5 separate regions of the Homo sapiens genome follow, and regions 2, 3, 4 and 5 are each linked to region 1. Evidence: promoter capture Hi-C in 16 types of primary human blood cells and fetal thymus (Javierre and others, 2016). All regions are on one chromosome and are shown on one strand. Each heading gives the region's core, a stretch centred on a gene start or on the middle of the fragment in contact. The rest is flanking DNA. Distances are from core to core; before and after follow the strand shown.

Region 1 (2,700 bases), core at 93-2,592:
GCTTCCCTCCCTTTAGTGGAGGGCCCGGCCTCCTCCGCCCCTACTTTCTTCAGTCTTGCCCTTCGAGGGCAGGAGAAGACGGTTGCGCCCTACTAACTCTTCACCTTACAGTCCAGCTTCTCCCCCCACCACCCCGGTGCGCTCTCTCGGTTTGCTACCCTCTCCACCAGGCCTCCCCACTCCACCTGCGCAACGCCCCCAGCTCCGTGCTCTCCGGAGTAATCCCCCCTCAGTCGCACTCTCACAGCCCGGCCCCTGCCCCCGCCTCACCCCCAGTTGTGCCTTCACCTCCCGGTTCCTCCTAGACAGGTCCCCCAAGATACGCCCTCACAGTCCGGTCCCCCGCCGTCCTCTCCCGGCGCACGCTCAAGTCCGGTGCCTTCCCCCCGCAGACCCCCGAGGCGCACCCTCAAGCTCGGTGCCTCTGCGCCCCCCGCAGGGGCGCCCTCAAGCCTGGTACCCTTCACATGAGAGCCCCCCGGGCGCACCCTCAAGCTCGGTGTACCCCCCCATACCACCCGCAGGCGCGCCCTCATGCCCGAAGACTTCCCCCGCCCAGGTGCACCCTCAAGCCCGGTGCCTTCCCCCACAACCAGCGCCCCCAGGCGCACCCTCAAGCCCGGAGCCTACCCGCCGCCAGGCGCGCCCTACAGGCTCGCCCCGTCCCACCGCGCAGCGCCCCCCGCGCACTCTCTGGAGTCCTCCCTCCTGCCTGGTGCGGCCTCCGGGCCCGGTCGGCCCCCCTTCCTGCCCCCACACTCAGACGCGCGCCCGGCGTCTCCGGGTCGCTAGTTCCGCGCCTTCCTGCATGGAGGCGCGCCCCGAGAGGCTCGGACGCGGCCCCTTAGGCCCGGCATCAGCCTCCCCGGCCAGCTGGAGAAGTCAGGTCAGCTTCCTGTCCCCGAGCAGCTGCCCGGGGGCCAGTTTTCAAAACATATCCTTAGTCATGTAATAAAGAGATGTTCCTCTGGTCTCAACTCCCGATTTTTACTTTGGAGGGGCGAAGGCAGGCCTACCCTTGCCAGCCACCATTTCTCAATCACGTCGCGGCTGTGGAAAAGCAGCCGTCCTGTCCCTTCAGAAAGGAACTCGTATTTCCCCCTCGAACTTTTCTCGTCGGTGTGAGAGAAGGGCCCTCCATTTTCTCCTCAGGAAGCTTTCGCGGCCCGACTTCCTCTCACCACCAGGCCAGGAAGGCAGTGACGCCGCGGCGAATATAGCCGCGGCGGCCGAGGTTTCGCCATCTTGAGTGGAGGAGGAGCCGCGGTCGCCGCCATGCGGAGAGGCAGGGAAAGAGGGAGGAGGCGGCGGGCGGGCGAACGGGCGAGCGAGGGAGGGGGCAGAGGAGCCGAGTTAGCTCAGCCAGGCGGCGACTTCGGCGGCGCCACGAGAGCGGGCAGCGGAGGAGGTAGGGCTGGACAGCCGGGGGAGCCGGCGGCTCGGGCGGCTGGCCTGCGCGCCCCTCGGAGCGGGGCGGGGGCGGGGGCGAGAGGAGGCCGTAGCGAGAGGGCTGGGTGGGGGCGGGCGGAGGTTTCCGAGGAGGAAGGAGCGTCCGCCATTTTGGGAGCTTCGAGTCAACAATAAAGGACCGAGGGTGCCGAGCGGGAGTGGCCTCGTTGGTAGGACACGGGCCCGAGTCGCGAGGCTTGGGGTGAGGTGGTGGGGTCGAGGTCAGCGGTGCTTTGGGGGCTGTGGGGAGCCCCCCGGGCCGGCTCTGGGGGACTCTCGGGCGGAGGCCTAAGGCCTGGCCGGGCCTGGGGAGGAAGGCGGTCGGCAGCTGTGTGGGGTGGGAGCGCCTGAGAGGAGGCGAATATAGGAATGTGGTGCGCAGCAGGGTCGGCAGGAGGAACAGGCTAAGTACTCGGAGTAGCTTTATCGAAGATGAGGGAATATGAGGCCGAAGGGGGCGGCAAGGACTTAGGGGGATGATGGTGGAGGTTATAGGGTACGAGGCGGCCCTATAGGGGGCGGCAGGGACATGCTGTATTGGAGGGCTCGGTTTAGAAGCAAACCGGCCGCTGCTTGATTGCAGTAGGCCTTGCGGGTCAATAACAAGAGGGTATTTATGGAGCCCCCGACTCTTGGAGGAAAGGAGGGGGATTTCTGGTTTAGGGGGTCCATTTGGGGCCTCCTTGGGGGAGTCCCTATTGTTTGCTACTAATGGAGCGGTTGCTGGCTCATATTGCGCAGATAAGATTGCAGAGCCCCAACCTTTTGTGTTTATGGTCAGAAGTGTGTGTGTTTGGGGCGTGGGGCGGGGTGCGGGGGGACAAGAAATTTCCTTTCAGTTACGGGGTTCCAGTCATTAGTCAATGACTCTTTCCCGTATCTCTCTCCTTTCTCTTCCTCAGCCCCCATTTCCCTTCAGAATAAAACCCAGTCACTCCAACTTGCAGGCAAAGCTAGAAAAACTGCGCTGCATTTGCAAACAAAAGCTCTTGTTGGCGATGACGATACTGTTTTGGGTGTGAAACTGTCAATTGCTAACTACGATCTGTGAAGTGCTGTAATTAACTCCGCTAGGGGCTCCTCCCAACTAGTCTACGTTTCTTGTTGTTTGTTTTTTGTTTTTTTGTTTTTTGTTTTTGAAAATGTAGAAAACTTGCAAATCTAAATTGGGAAGGGGTAGGAGGAATATTTCCTTCTCTGAGAAAAAGCTGCAGTGCAGGTTTCAGTTTAAGAAGGGAGCAGTTATCACAT
Region 2 (2,700 bases), core at 1-2,500, 450 kb after region 1:
AAGCCACCTCAGTCCAGGCCTTCATTCAGGAATTTTTTTCACTTTTTTTTTCTTTTTCTTTTTTGAGACAGAGTCTCACTTTGTTGCCCAGGCTGGAGTGCAGTGGCGCTATCTCAGCTCACTGCAACCTCCACCTCCGGGGTTCAAGCGATTCTCCTGCCTCAGCCTCCTGAGTAGCTGAGATTACAGGTGCGTGCCAGCAAGCCCGGCTAATTTTTGTATTTTTAGTAGAGACGGGGTTTCACCTTGTTGGTCAGGCTGGTCTCGAACTCCTGACCTTGTGATCCACCTGCCTCAGCCTCCCAAAGTGTTGGGATTACAGGCGTGAGACACGGCACCTGGTTTCACTATTCTTTTGAGATCATGAAAGAGGCGCCTGGAAGGCAATAGGTGGAACAATTCCGAGGACAGGCCAGCACATTTTCAGGGGCCAGAGCCCGGACTGAATGTCCAGGATCTCAGGCCCCTATCTCCCTCAGCCAGTCAGTCAGTGAGCCAACAAAAATGTGCAGAGCTCCCGTTATGTGCCAGGCACAAGATACAGCAGTGAGCAAGACAGGCATGACTCTGTCCCCAGGTAAGTGACAGTCTAACTGCAGCAGCGTGAAGAGTTTCAGATCCTCGTAGGCCACAGGGGAAAAAGGTCCATTTGTCTCACCGGGAGGCTCAATATTGCCTGTCAGTCAATTATATTATTATTAATAACTACCCCTTAATGAGCACATATGATGCGTGAGGCACCATGCAAATATCTTGTTTGAATCCTAATAATGGTACTAATGGAATAAGACTCTGAAAAATTTTATGGCTGGCCCAGGCCCCACAGGTAGGCAGTATTGGACCCAGGATTCAAATCTCTGGCTGGGGTCTCTAAAGCCCAACCTCCCACTGACAAGAAGCTGCTAGATCTGGTGTCCCTGGCTGCCTAGTGAAGGGTCCTGAGAAAGATCAGCCTCCATGAGAAATCTAGCTGCTACGGCTTGCGCTATGGGGCCGACGGCTTCTCTCAAGGGGCTTCGAGATGTGGCAGTGTTTAGGTTGTGTGTAAATGTGGTTGCATTGTCAATAGGGACGCTAAAGTTCAGGCCACCTTTTCCATATTCTCTGCCAGCTCCCTGCTCAGAGATAGAGCAATTTACACCGCTTCCTTCCTACCCTACCCCTAGCCCACCCCCACTCTGAAAATTTCCCACCATCAACGGCAGAAAGCAGAGAAGCAGACATCTTCTAGTTCCTCCCCCACTCTCCTCTTTCCGGTACCTGTGAGTCAGCTAGGGGAGGGCAGCTCTCACCCAGGCTGATAGTTCGGTGACCTGGCTTTATCTACTGGATGAGTTCCGCTGGGAGATGGAACATAGCACGTTTCTCTCTGGCCTGGTACTGGCTACCCTTCTCTCGCAAGGTAAGGCTACTCCAGGTGGGTGGGGGAAGGGACCTGAGAGGGACATTACTGATGGGAGTGAGGCCCACTTGAAAGTGTTTCTTGCCAGGCACGGTGGCTCACACCAGTAATCCCAGAGCTTTGGGAGGCCGAAGTGGGAGGATCCTTTGAGGCCAGGAGTTTGAGACCAGTCTGAGCAACATGATGAGACTCTATCTTTACAAAAAACAAAAGAATTAGCCAGGCATGGTGGTGCACAACTGTAGTCCCAGCTATTTGAGAGGCTGAGGCAGGAGGGTCACTTGAGCCCGGGATTTCAAGGCTTCAGTGAGCTGTGATCATGCCACTGCCCTCCAACCTAGGCAACCTGTGAGACCTTATCTCAAAAAAAAAAAAAAGTGCTTCTCGGTGCTAGCTTCAGTTCACCAGGCACCCCAGGGGTGTCAGGAGGGCAGGGGCAGGATGTAGCATAGAGTCTGGGAAACAGGCTCTTGGCTTTGACTGACTCCAGCCATGGGTGCATGTGGGCCTAGAATGTCTCTCAGAAGGCCTTAGGCCAGAGATCTGCAGAAAATAGCTCAGTACGTATGTACCTGAATCTGGGACTGGCCATGGGAGCACAGCTTCCTGCACTACTCCTTTTAGGCCTGATGGCCTCTGGAATCAGGACTCTTGTTTGTTTGGCCATGATTATGTCATCCCTGGAGGCATGTCCTAGCACTTATGTGAATGCTTTAAGAGAAGTTAACTTTAGGTTGAGCAGGACGGAGGGAAGATTTGAGGGGTTGTTACATGGTAGGATTTTAACTCATCTCAGTTTGCCAATTTCAGTTTTAAAATGGAAAGTCCCATGTCCGAGGAACCCCTTCAACACTAAGCAAACTGGGTCCAATGGTCACCTAATAGTTGGCTGCACTAGGGCACTCAGGATTTCCACTGGAGACAGATCCCTGAAGAGGACGCGACTGTAGGACGTGAAGCATTTGATGTGCATGTGTCTCCCTGAGGATACATGCATATACTTCCAACCTGCTTCAGAAGTGTGAGCAACAGCTGTTTCAGGGTTTTCTAGAAGATGCTCTTGTATCCAAATTTGGGACTTAGTGTGAAGCCCAGGATGAATGAATGTAGCCTCCACTTTTCCCTGTGTTTGGAGGCATAGACTGTAGTGCCTCTGTGGCCTGTGGAGATGTGCTCAGGCTGTCAGAGGAACTCACTGCATCTGGAATGTTGCTGCACTCACCTCCAGCCCTAAAAGTCTCCCACAAGACTTGACTTGTGAGGAGCTCTAGGGATGGATTCAATAAAATTTTTTTCCT
Region 3 (2,700 bases), core at 93-2,592, 350 kb after region 1:
TGCTCTTCTCTAAGCCTAGGGGACAGTGGACTATTTTCCCCTCCAAGATGCCACTAATCCTTCATTCTAAAGGAGGGAAAGGGTGGAGTGAAGGTAGAGTAATTCCCGGCTACCAATAGGCTAGAAACTGTAGCCCTGTAAGACGGGGCGGGGGGGGGAAGAGACTGCTGTATGAGGAATCACCGTTATCTTCAGAGGGAAAGGAGGTGAGACCAGGCAAGGTGCAGAGGAGAGATTTTCCCCGGTGGGGTAGGGCGGGATGGGGGAGGATCGGTCTGCTTGGGGTGGGGGTAGAGGGTGGAGGTGAAGGAAGGGGGAGTGGCTGGCAGTATAGGGACCTGGCCCGGGGATGGCGCGAGGGTTCATCGGGTTTTCGAAAGCAAGGTGCTGGAAGGGACACGATCCCCAAGGGCCAGGAGAACGTGGCCCTGGATGAGGCCATCACCCGAGAGACGCCCGAGAGGAAAACTGCCCTAGGAGTAACACATCTGCCCAGAGAGGGAGGCGGGGATGTGGCGGGATCAGGTCTCTAGGAGGGAGGGAGGGAGGAATCTTGCTCGGATGAGGTAATCTGTGAAAGGGAGGAGGGGTTCAGTCCCGGGATGGGAAACCCCGGCGAGGGGGTCTGTGCCAAGGGATTTGGGGAAGGGTCAGGGGGAGGAGAGCGGGGGGCAAACGCCCTCAGCCAGATGGGCCCAAACCCCGGGGTGGGGGCGCCTGGGGGTCTGCAGCCCTGCATGGGGGTCCCAAGATGGGAGAGCCATTCGCCCCGGGTCAGGGACCCCGAGATGGTCCCAGAATTGGGATGCTCCTCAATCCCGGATGGGGGAGGGGAGGGGGCTCCGCAGAGGGTCGAGACCCCGGACCTGGGGGTTCCTCGCCCCCTTACCTCTCCGCTGCCGCCTCCCCCGCCGCTCTCCCCAAACACGGCCCGGAACCGGCGCAGGTTGGTGCCGATGGCGGCCGAGACCTGCAGCGCCGCGTCGAAGCCCGGGCCCACCCGGAGCAGGGCCGGCCCTGAAGAGGCTGAGGACGATGACGAAGACGAAGACGAGGCGGACGACGAGGAGGCTGCTGAGGCGGCGGCCGCTCCCCCTGGAACCCCAGCCCCGCTGCTTCCCGCCGCCGCCGCCGCGGCCGCCACAGCCGGGGGGGAGGGGGGCGCCCCGGGGCCGCCACCGCCGACCGGGGGCCCGGGGGGAAGCAGCAGGGCCGGGACGCGTTGCCGCGGGGCGCCCCCTAGGCCCCGGCGCCCCCCGCCGCCGCCGCCCCCGGTGGTCCCGGGTCGGGCGGGGAAGCGCCACCGACAGCTGTGCGCCATGTTCGCCCCGTGAAGTGAAGCAGCGAGAGGGAGAGGCGACAACACAGGGGGGCGGGGAGGCGGAGGGGGGGGCACGGGGCCCCGGAACCTGCCTAACCAGCTCTGCGCCGCCCGGCCGCCTGCACCCTGCCGGCCGCTATGCAGAGCGCCGGGCCGCGCCCGCCAGCCCCGCAATCTGTATAGCGGCCTCGGGCCTCCGCCTCTGACGCCTGGGCGCTGCAACTCCATCCCGAGGCCCGGGCCGCCGCCTCCTGCCCGCCCGCCGGCCCCGCAACCTGGATAACTGCATGCCCCGCCCTCCGGGAGAGGCATTGCTCGGGAAAAGGAGGGGGGAAGGAAGCCCGGGAGCCCGGAGCAGAGCGCGGGTTCCGGAGAGAGGGGGAGGGGGCGAGGACTACGCGGAGGATGGAGGCGTAGGGAGCCGGGCCGCCTGCAGCCTTGAGCGCCGAGAGGCCGATTACACACGTTCCCGGGACGCGCTGGGAATCGAACAGCCCGGGAGAGCAGCTTCCAGTATAACGCGGCGGCTGGGTCGGGGAGCAGTGAGCCTTCTCCTCCGCCCCAGGGCACGGATACAAGATGGGTTAGCCCGAATTGAACGCTTCTAGAATAAAAGAGCCCTTATTGTACTACATGCAAAACAGAAGCGCTGCCCAGTTTACTATATGCAAAACAGAAAGGCCCTCAATGAACGCACTTTAAAAAATAAAAAAGGAGCCCCTCCCATTTTCATGCTGGAGCTCTTTCCAAAAAGCACACACCGAGTGGCAGGTCTCCTGCCACCTCCTCGCTCTACTGTGCACTCGTCTGGCTTTCGTGCCCTTCTGCAGGGAGTTGGGTTGTGTTTCTCCAGCCCGGGCACTGAGGCCACGGCGTGCTCCGCTAACGACGCGGTGTTACAACGAAGCTGAAGCTGGGTGGCTAACGGGGCCTGGAGGGAAGAGGCGGGCAAAAGCGCCCCCGCCCCTTCTTCCTCCGGTCTCTGCCTGCCGCTGCATGCAAAGCAGACCCTAATGTATGCACGCAGAGGGAGGGGGGCTCGCGAGCACGTTTCTGATTAAGAGAGGGGGAGGAGGAGAGCGTTGGGCATTATGATACACTGGGTGGAAGGGGCCCGCCGGCGGCGAGCTCTGTGCGCGGGGTTAGTAAGCTGAGGGGGGAGGGGGAAAGAAGGAGGCGAGTTAGGGAGGGGAATGAATATCCACCGGGTTTACTTTATTGCGGGAAAGAGGGGAGGGCGCCTCGAGCATAGCGTTAGACGCCTGCAAGGCTGGGAAAGCCGAGAGGGTAGGGAGGGGTTTGTGTCGGGAGAACTTGCGTTGGCTGAGGCTGGGGGATCGATACACAGCCTGCAGGCCCCGGGGCAGCCTCCATCCCCC
Region 4 (2,700 bases), core at 179-2,678, 330 kb before region 1:
GGGACTATAAGCACGCACCACCACGCCCAGCTAATTTTTGTAGTATTAGTAGAGACGAGGTCTTGCCATGTTGGTCAGGCTGGTCCCAAACTCCTGACCTCAAGTGATCCGCCCGCCTCGGCCTCACAAAGTGCTGGGATTACAGGTGTGAGCCACCGCGACAGGCCTACCTATGCAACTTCTATTCGCCTTTCAAACCCCAAAGTCTTCTCTTTGATGACCCCCTTCCCAATTCATCCAGGTACAGCTGGCATATCCCATCTCTTGCCCACGGCATCCACACACATCTTTGCTATCAATGCAATGAAACTTGTTTCCCCTAGACTAGGAGTTTCTCAGGACAGTGGCCATCACTTATTCACTTCTCATTCTCAGATTCAGCACAGAGCTTTGCACACCCCAGGTACTCAATAAATATCAGGAGATAATCACATTCCGGGAAGCCTTCCTAAACTACCCCATCCCTGAATCTACTCTTGCTCCTTAGTTCTATGGCTGGCACAGCTGACACCATAAAACTTCAACCCTATTTTCATGTTGCCATGGTCGTTTTATGTGTTCTAGTCTCGTTTACCCAATTGGACTATAAGAAGCTTCTGAGCAGAAACCATATCACACCTGCCCGTGTCCCTACACTGTGCCGAGCACAAATATTCTAAACATACACCTGCTGTTAGACTGGTGGGTAAGTCCAAGGAGGCAAGCTAGCTGGCGATACAGAATGATCTGAAACCTAGGCAAAACTCCCTGACGCTCTCTGACTGTCCTCCTGTCTTCTTTAATTTCTCTTTCTGTGTCTCTTGTTTCTACTCTGAGGAGATAGGGGCATGATCTTCACTCTACCCTCTTAACACTTAAGAGGGCATATACTGTAACGCAAGACAATGAATGAACTGTGGTATTCAAGAAAAAAAGGGTCCTAAACGCCTAAGAACTCATAATTTGGCCAAAAAGATAAGACTGATACGTGAAGACAACGACCGAAACAAAGTACCCGATGAGGGAGACCAGGACAGAGAGACACCTCCGCGGTCAGGCGAAAAGGAAGTCTCCCCTAAGCAGTGGGGCCCGCACCACGCCTCGAAGGACAGGTAGAATTTGGACAGAAGGAAGGAGACCGTCCCGTTGGGCAAAACCTCTCCACTCGCAGTCCCGCAGGCTTCCCGGAATCCTTCACGCTAAGGCGTGGCGGCGACCGAGTCTCAGCCGCAGCGAAGCCCCTAGACTAGAAAGCAGGGAGGTTCCAGTCGGGGTGAGGGGACCGGACCAGGGCAGACCAGCGTGGCCAAGCGGCAAGAATACTCGCCGAGGTGGCTCGGGAAGAGCTTGGCCTCCTGCAGCCCCTGCAGAGCACATACCCCAGCTTACCGTCTGTCGGCTCCAGGTCTCTTCAGCTCTTCTCCCACCTCAGACCATCTCCGGAGAGGCGCTTGAGGGACGGTCAAGGAAAGCCAATCGTCGTTCTCGGATCCGACTGACAGCCAATGGTAGCTGTGTCTGGCGGAACCCGTGCGCACCAAAACACGGAAGGGGCGGGAACAGTGGGTGGGGCTAGGCGTCCCGGGCGGACAGAGGGGCGACAGGATACGTGCAAAAGGTAGCACGTGACCGCGCCTCGCTGCTCAGGGCAACGCAAAGGCGGGGAGCCTATGGGCCTGAGTTCCCCTAACTGCGCAGGCTCGGCCTCCGGGACCCAACGGGCATGCGCAGGGCTCGCGCCTGGTGCGCAGTGGGGTCTCCCTCACGTGGTTCTTCGCTTTAGTTGGCTGGTTGCGTGGGCCTCGCGGAGAAAAAGGCGTGGGATGCTGCCCAGCGCTGTCGGCCCCGCTCGGCTCAGATTGAAGGTTCTACCCTTTCCTTCAGCCTCTTAGTCTTATTATGTTTTAAATGTTGGTATTATATGTTTCTCTTTCCCCCCAAAACTCGGCTTCCCTTCATCCACTCGTTCAGGTCAGAAAGCTGGCAGTCATCACTGATTCCTCTCACTTCTCACATCCAATCCATTGCCAAGTTCTGTGGATTCTACCTCCTTTTAAAACAGGATATTTCAAATTTATCCCCTTTTGTTTATCTTCACCGCCTCCCCCACCTCCCCTGTCCAGTGATGACCTCCAGGCAGGATTTATACATTAGTCTAATGGGTCCCGCTGCGTGCACACTTGCTTCCTTCCAAAGCATTCTCCACTTTGCAAAAAGCAGACCTGATCAAGTTACCATCTGCTTCAGACAATTCAAAGGCATTCTATTGCTTTCAGGGCAAAGCTCCAAAACCATACTGAGGTTTTCTAGACCCTTCAGCATCTGGGCTCTCCCTGTCTACTTTTTTTTAGTCCTTCTCGACCATATTTCTTGCTCTCCAGTCGCAAATTTCTTTCACCTTTTCCACCACACCAAGCCACCTTTTACCTCTCAAGCCTTGAACTTGTTTTCTTTACCTGGAATAATCCCTTTCTCCTCCTCCCACATTTATTTGACTGACTCCTACTAATTTTTATGGTCTCAGTGTAGATGCTTCTTTTTCCAAAAAGTCTTCCTGATAGTCCTTTCTTGTATTTAACAATACAGCTCAGTCACATTGTATTTGTCTGTTTACTCTCAGTCTGCATTCTTCACTAGACTAGTTCTTCACCTTTATAACTCCATCAGTGGGCCGGGTGTCGTGGCTCACGCCTGTGATCCCAGCACTTTGGGAGGCCGAGG
Region 5 (2,700 bases), core at 198-2,697, 420 kb before region 1:
AACACCATTCTCTTAAAACGTGCCAGATACTTCTAATCACTTTTCATACGCAATATGAATTTTGTCAAAGTAATTAATTAAAGAATATGAAAAATACCAAGAAAACGTATTGAATTCTGACAAAGCGTCCGACTGCTTAAACAGTTAAATACTTGAGACTGACTACATTTCATCATATAGACACAACTATAAGGAAGTAAAATTCTCCCAAATGACAAACTTAGTGGCTAAATATAAAGGAGTTATTTTTGTTCGCACTTGCAAAAAGCAAACAAACAAAAAAGCGTAATCAAAGAAGCTCAACGAACAAGTTTAAAGTCAGGACCTGTAATAAGGAGTCAGAACCGTTACCAGAAAAAAAGAACCCAGCTCAAGCGATGTAGTAGGGAGGAAGTTATTAAGAAGTCAGAATCTGCTGCTGCTTAACAGGCTCAGCCAGTCCATCTTTCAGAAGATAATAGTTCTAACCAGAACTTGTGGTTTAATCAGTGCATATCTCAGCACCAGCAATGGATCACATCCAGTGTTTCTGAGGGTAACAAAAAACTTGAGCCGGCGCTAGATGGGGAGGAAAGTTCTTTCCTTGCCTCACTTAAACATCAATATGTCTTTTATCTTCGTGTTACATCTTAATGAGAAAGGACTATACTCTCACCCAGAGCACAGCTTCCCTGAGAGCTGTCCTGACCCCAGCCAGGTTCCTCAGTCAGAGCCCATGAACCTAATTCCCTAGTCAGATCTCACCCAGCCAAGAGCCCCAGCCGGTACATCACTCTTCCTCACCCCCTCCCTGCTAACCTCCCAGGCCAATTCCGTGACCTACATCCCTACACCCTGCACAGAGCCCCAAACTCCGCACCCCTCATTGTACTTCCGCCCCACTGACTTCCCAGTTAACCTTCGCCCCAGCCCCCACTCCATCTTTGTCTGGCTACCCCAAACGCGGCACCCCAGCGTTCCCCGACTCCCAACGGCAGCCCCTCCCCCACGCCGCCCCCCACCCTCCCGGCCTCGTCCCTGCCCCCACGCCCCCGGCCGGTCACCCCGGCTCCGCGCCTCCCCGGCTTCACCAGACCCGTCCCCTCCCCCGCTTCCTCCGTCCGCTCGTTCCCCTCCCCGCGGCCCTCCGCCCACGCCCACCCTGCAACAGCGGGCGCTCAGCCGGCCTTTCACCTTGTCCATGAGCTTCCAGCACTTCTCCACCATCTTCTTGTCCACCGTCCCCGGCGGGTGGGGGCTGAGGTGGTGGTGGTGGTGGTGGTGCGGCTGGAAGGCGTCCTTCATGAGCCCAATCAGGCCACCCGAACCCGAGCCCCCGGAGCCGCTGCCGCCCCCGGCCCCAGAGCTCTTCTTCACGTTGCCGGCCATGGCCTGGGCAGGGTCGGAGCCCAGGCGGGTCCGCCGGCTCGGCTCGACTGCGAGCGAGGGAGAGAAGCAGGGCGTGAAGGAGGGGCCTCTCCCGGCCGCCGCCGCCGCCGCCGCCGCCGCCGCCGCCGGCTATCCGGGCGGAGGGAGGAGCGGCCGTGGGGAGGGGAGTGGGCGGCGCCGGGAGTGCGCGGGACGCGCCCCTTCAGAGCGCGCGAGCCCGGGGCGGGCGGGGCGCGTCCCGGAGGCGGACCGGCTTACTGGTAAGCTCGGGGAAGCGGCCGGCCGCGGCCGGACTGGGCAGCGACGATCCCCGGGCCACCGGCTTCGAGCAGCTCGCGTGCCCACAGCTCCCGGAAAGCCGCGGCCAGGTTTCTGTGCCCGTCTTCCCCGCCCCTACGCCGGGGCGGGGCGGGGCCAGGCTGGGGCGGGGTCGGCGGAACCTTTGGGCCTGCGCCCTCTGCTGGAGAAACGGGGAAAGGAGCGGCGGGGGGTTGGGGAGTAGGTCCAAGGTGGAGTCTGCGCAGTAGCCAGAAACCAAGACTTCCATGCTCCTTGTGGGCGGGAGGTTGGCGCTTCTGGGGTGGGTCATGGGAATGTTTAAATTAAGACAGGTGGCGATGGAATGGAAGAGTCCTGATGTCAAGTCTTTCCCCACCCCTGACAAATGAGGAAATCGAGCTTAGAGTTATTTGTTTATTTACACTGTGGGAGGATGGTGGGAGAAAAAGGAAAGTTATTTCTCCACCCCTTATTATTTTCAATTCTTCATTAAGACACGACCAAGGACAGGAATATGAATGCTGCGGCCCATTCCAGCCGGATTAGGCCCCAGAAAGCCTTGAGACACTCAAGCCAGGACCTCTTCTTCCAGGCCCTTTGACCTCTTGAAAAGAAATCACTTCCTTTTTTTATTTTTTATTTTTATTTTTTTGGCTTGTGAAGACTAGTTACGTTTCTGGGAATTGAATCTCAAACATGTATTTAAGATTCTCCTACTCAGAGCATTGCACCACAGGTCGGCGCCGCCAGCATGAGGGCCCCCTCAGAAGCTGACCTGCTGCTGGCTCCGCCCGAGGGGGTTCTCTCTCCCGCCCAGGGAACAGAAATGCTGTTCCTGGTCACTTCCACTTCTCAGTCAATTACACTTCTCTAATGTAAAAGTTCCGTTGGAAGAACTTTGAAAATAGGAACTTCCCTTCCAAAGAGGGAAGTGCCCTGCCCTAATTTACTAATTCTGAGCCTCAGTTTTGGGAGTTTGCAGACCCAGGTGTGTCAGTATCAGTTCCGCCTTCGATCCCCCTCCAGGCTCTTCCACAAAGCCCTTGACAGATT

The links. The method cuts DNA at HindIII sites, captures the fragments that hold promoters and counts their contacts. A CHiCAGO score of 5 or more calls a contact.
Region 2: the fragment with the promoter of CD3D here is called in contact with the fragment with the promoter of DDX6 in region 1 in 1 of 17 cell types (fetal thymus); the score reaches 5.2 in fetal thymus.
Region 3: the fragment with the promoter of KMT2A here is called in contact with the fragment with the promoter of DDX6 in region 1 in 1 of 17 cell types (fetal thymus); the score reaches 5.8 in fetal thymus.
Region 4: the fragment with the promoter of HINFP here is called in contact with the fragment with the promoter of DDX6 in region 1 in 1 of 17 cell types (non-activated CD4 T cells); the score reaches 5.2 in non-activated CD4 T cells.
Region 5: the fragment with the promoter of CBL here is called in contact with the fragment with the promoter of DDX6 in region 1 in 1 of 17 cell types (neutrophils); the score reaches 5.1 in neutrophils.

Annotation. Positions count from the first base shown.
Region 1 is chr11:118,789,806-118,792,505 of GRCh38, reverse strand. It overlaps DDX6 (DEAD-box helicase 6), which reads left to right and starts at 1,342. Exons shown (of 14, transcript NM_004397.6): 1 at 1,342-1,408. RefSeq lists enhancers at 1-510, 1,127-1,236, 2,547-2,700, 2,185-2,700 and silencers at 567-856, 1,307-1,636, 2,267-2,346. The HindIII fragment of the contact is 4,863 bases long and covers 1,159-2,700 here.
Region 2 is chr11:118,341,255-118,343,954 of GRCh38, reverse strand. It overlaps CD3D (CD3 delta subunit of T-cell receptor complex), which reads left to right and starts at 1,250. Exons shown (of 5, transcript NM_000732.6): 1 at 1,250-1,402. The coding sequence starts at 1,348. The HindIII fragment of the contact is 13,588 bases long and covers 1-2,700 here.
Region 3 is chr11:118,435,134-118,437,833 of GRCh38, reverse strand. KMT2A (lysine methyltransferase 2A) reads right to left here and starts at 1,342. Exons shown (of 36, transcript NM_001197104.2): 1 at 890-1,342. The coding sequence starts at 1,321. RefSeq lists enhancers at 1-373, 374-1,372, 2,034-2,173, 1,373-2,370 and a silencer at 1,244-1,723. The HindIII fragment of the contact is 8,732 bases long and covers 1-2,700 here.
Region 4 is chr11:119,120,308-119,123,007 of GRCh38, reverse strand. HINFP (histone H4 transcription factor) reads right to left here and starts at 1,428. Exons shown (of 10, transcript NM_198971.3): 1 at 1,369-1,428. RefSeq lists a silencer at 1,415-1,694. The HindIII fragment of the contact is 5,005 bases long and covers 596-2,700 here.
Region 5 is chr11:119,205,086-119,207,785 of GRCh38, reverse strand. CBL (Cbl proto-oncogene) reads right to left here and starts at 1,447. Exons shown (of 16, transcript NM_005188.4): 1 at 1,174-1,447. The coding sequence starts at 1,368. RefSeq lists silencers at 930-989, 1,180-1,369, 1,440-1,829, 1,870-1,939. The HindIII fragment of the contact is 20,442 bases long and covers 1-2,700 here.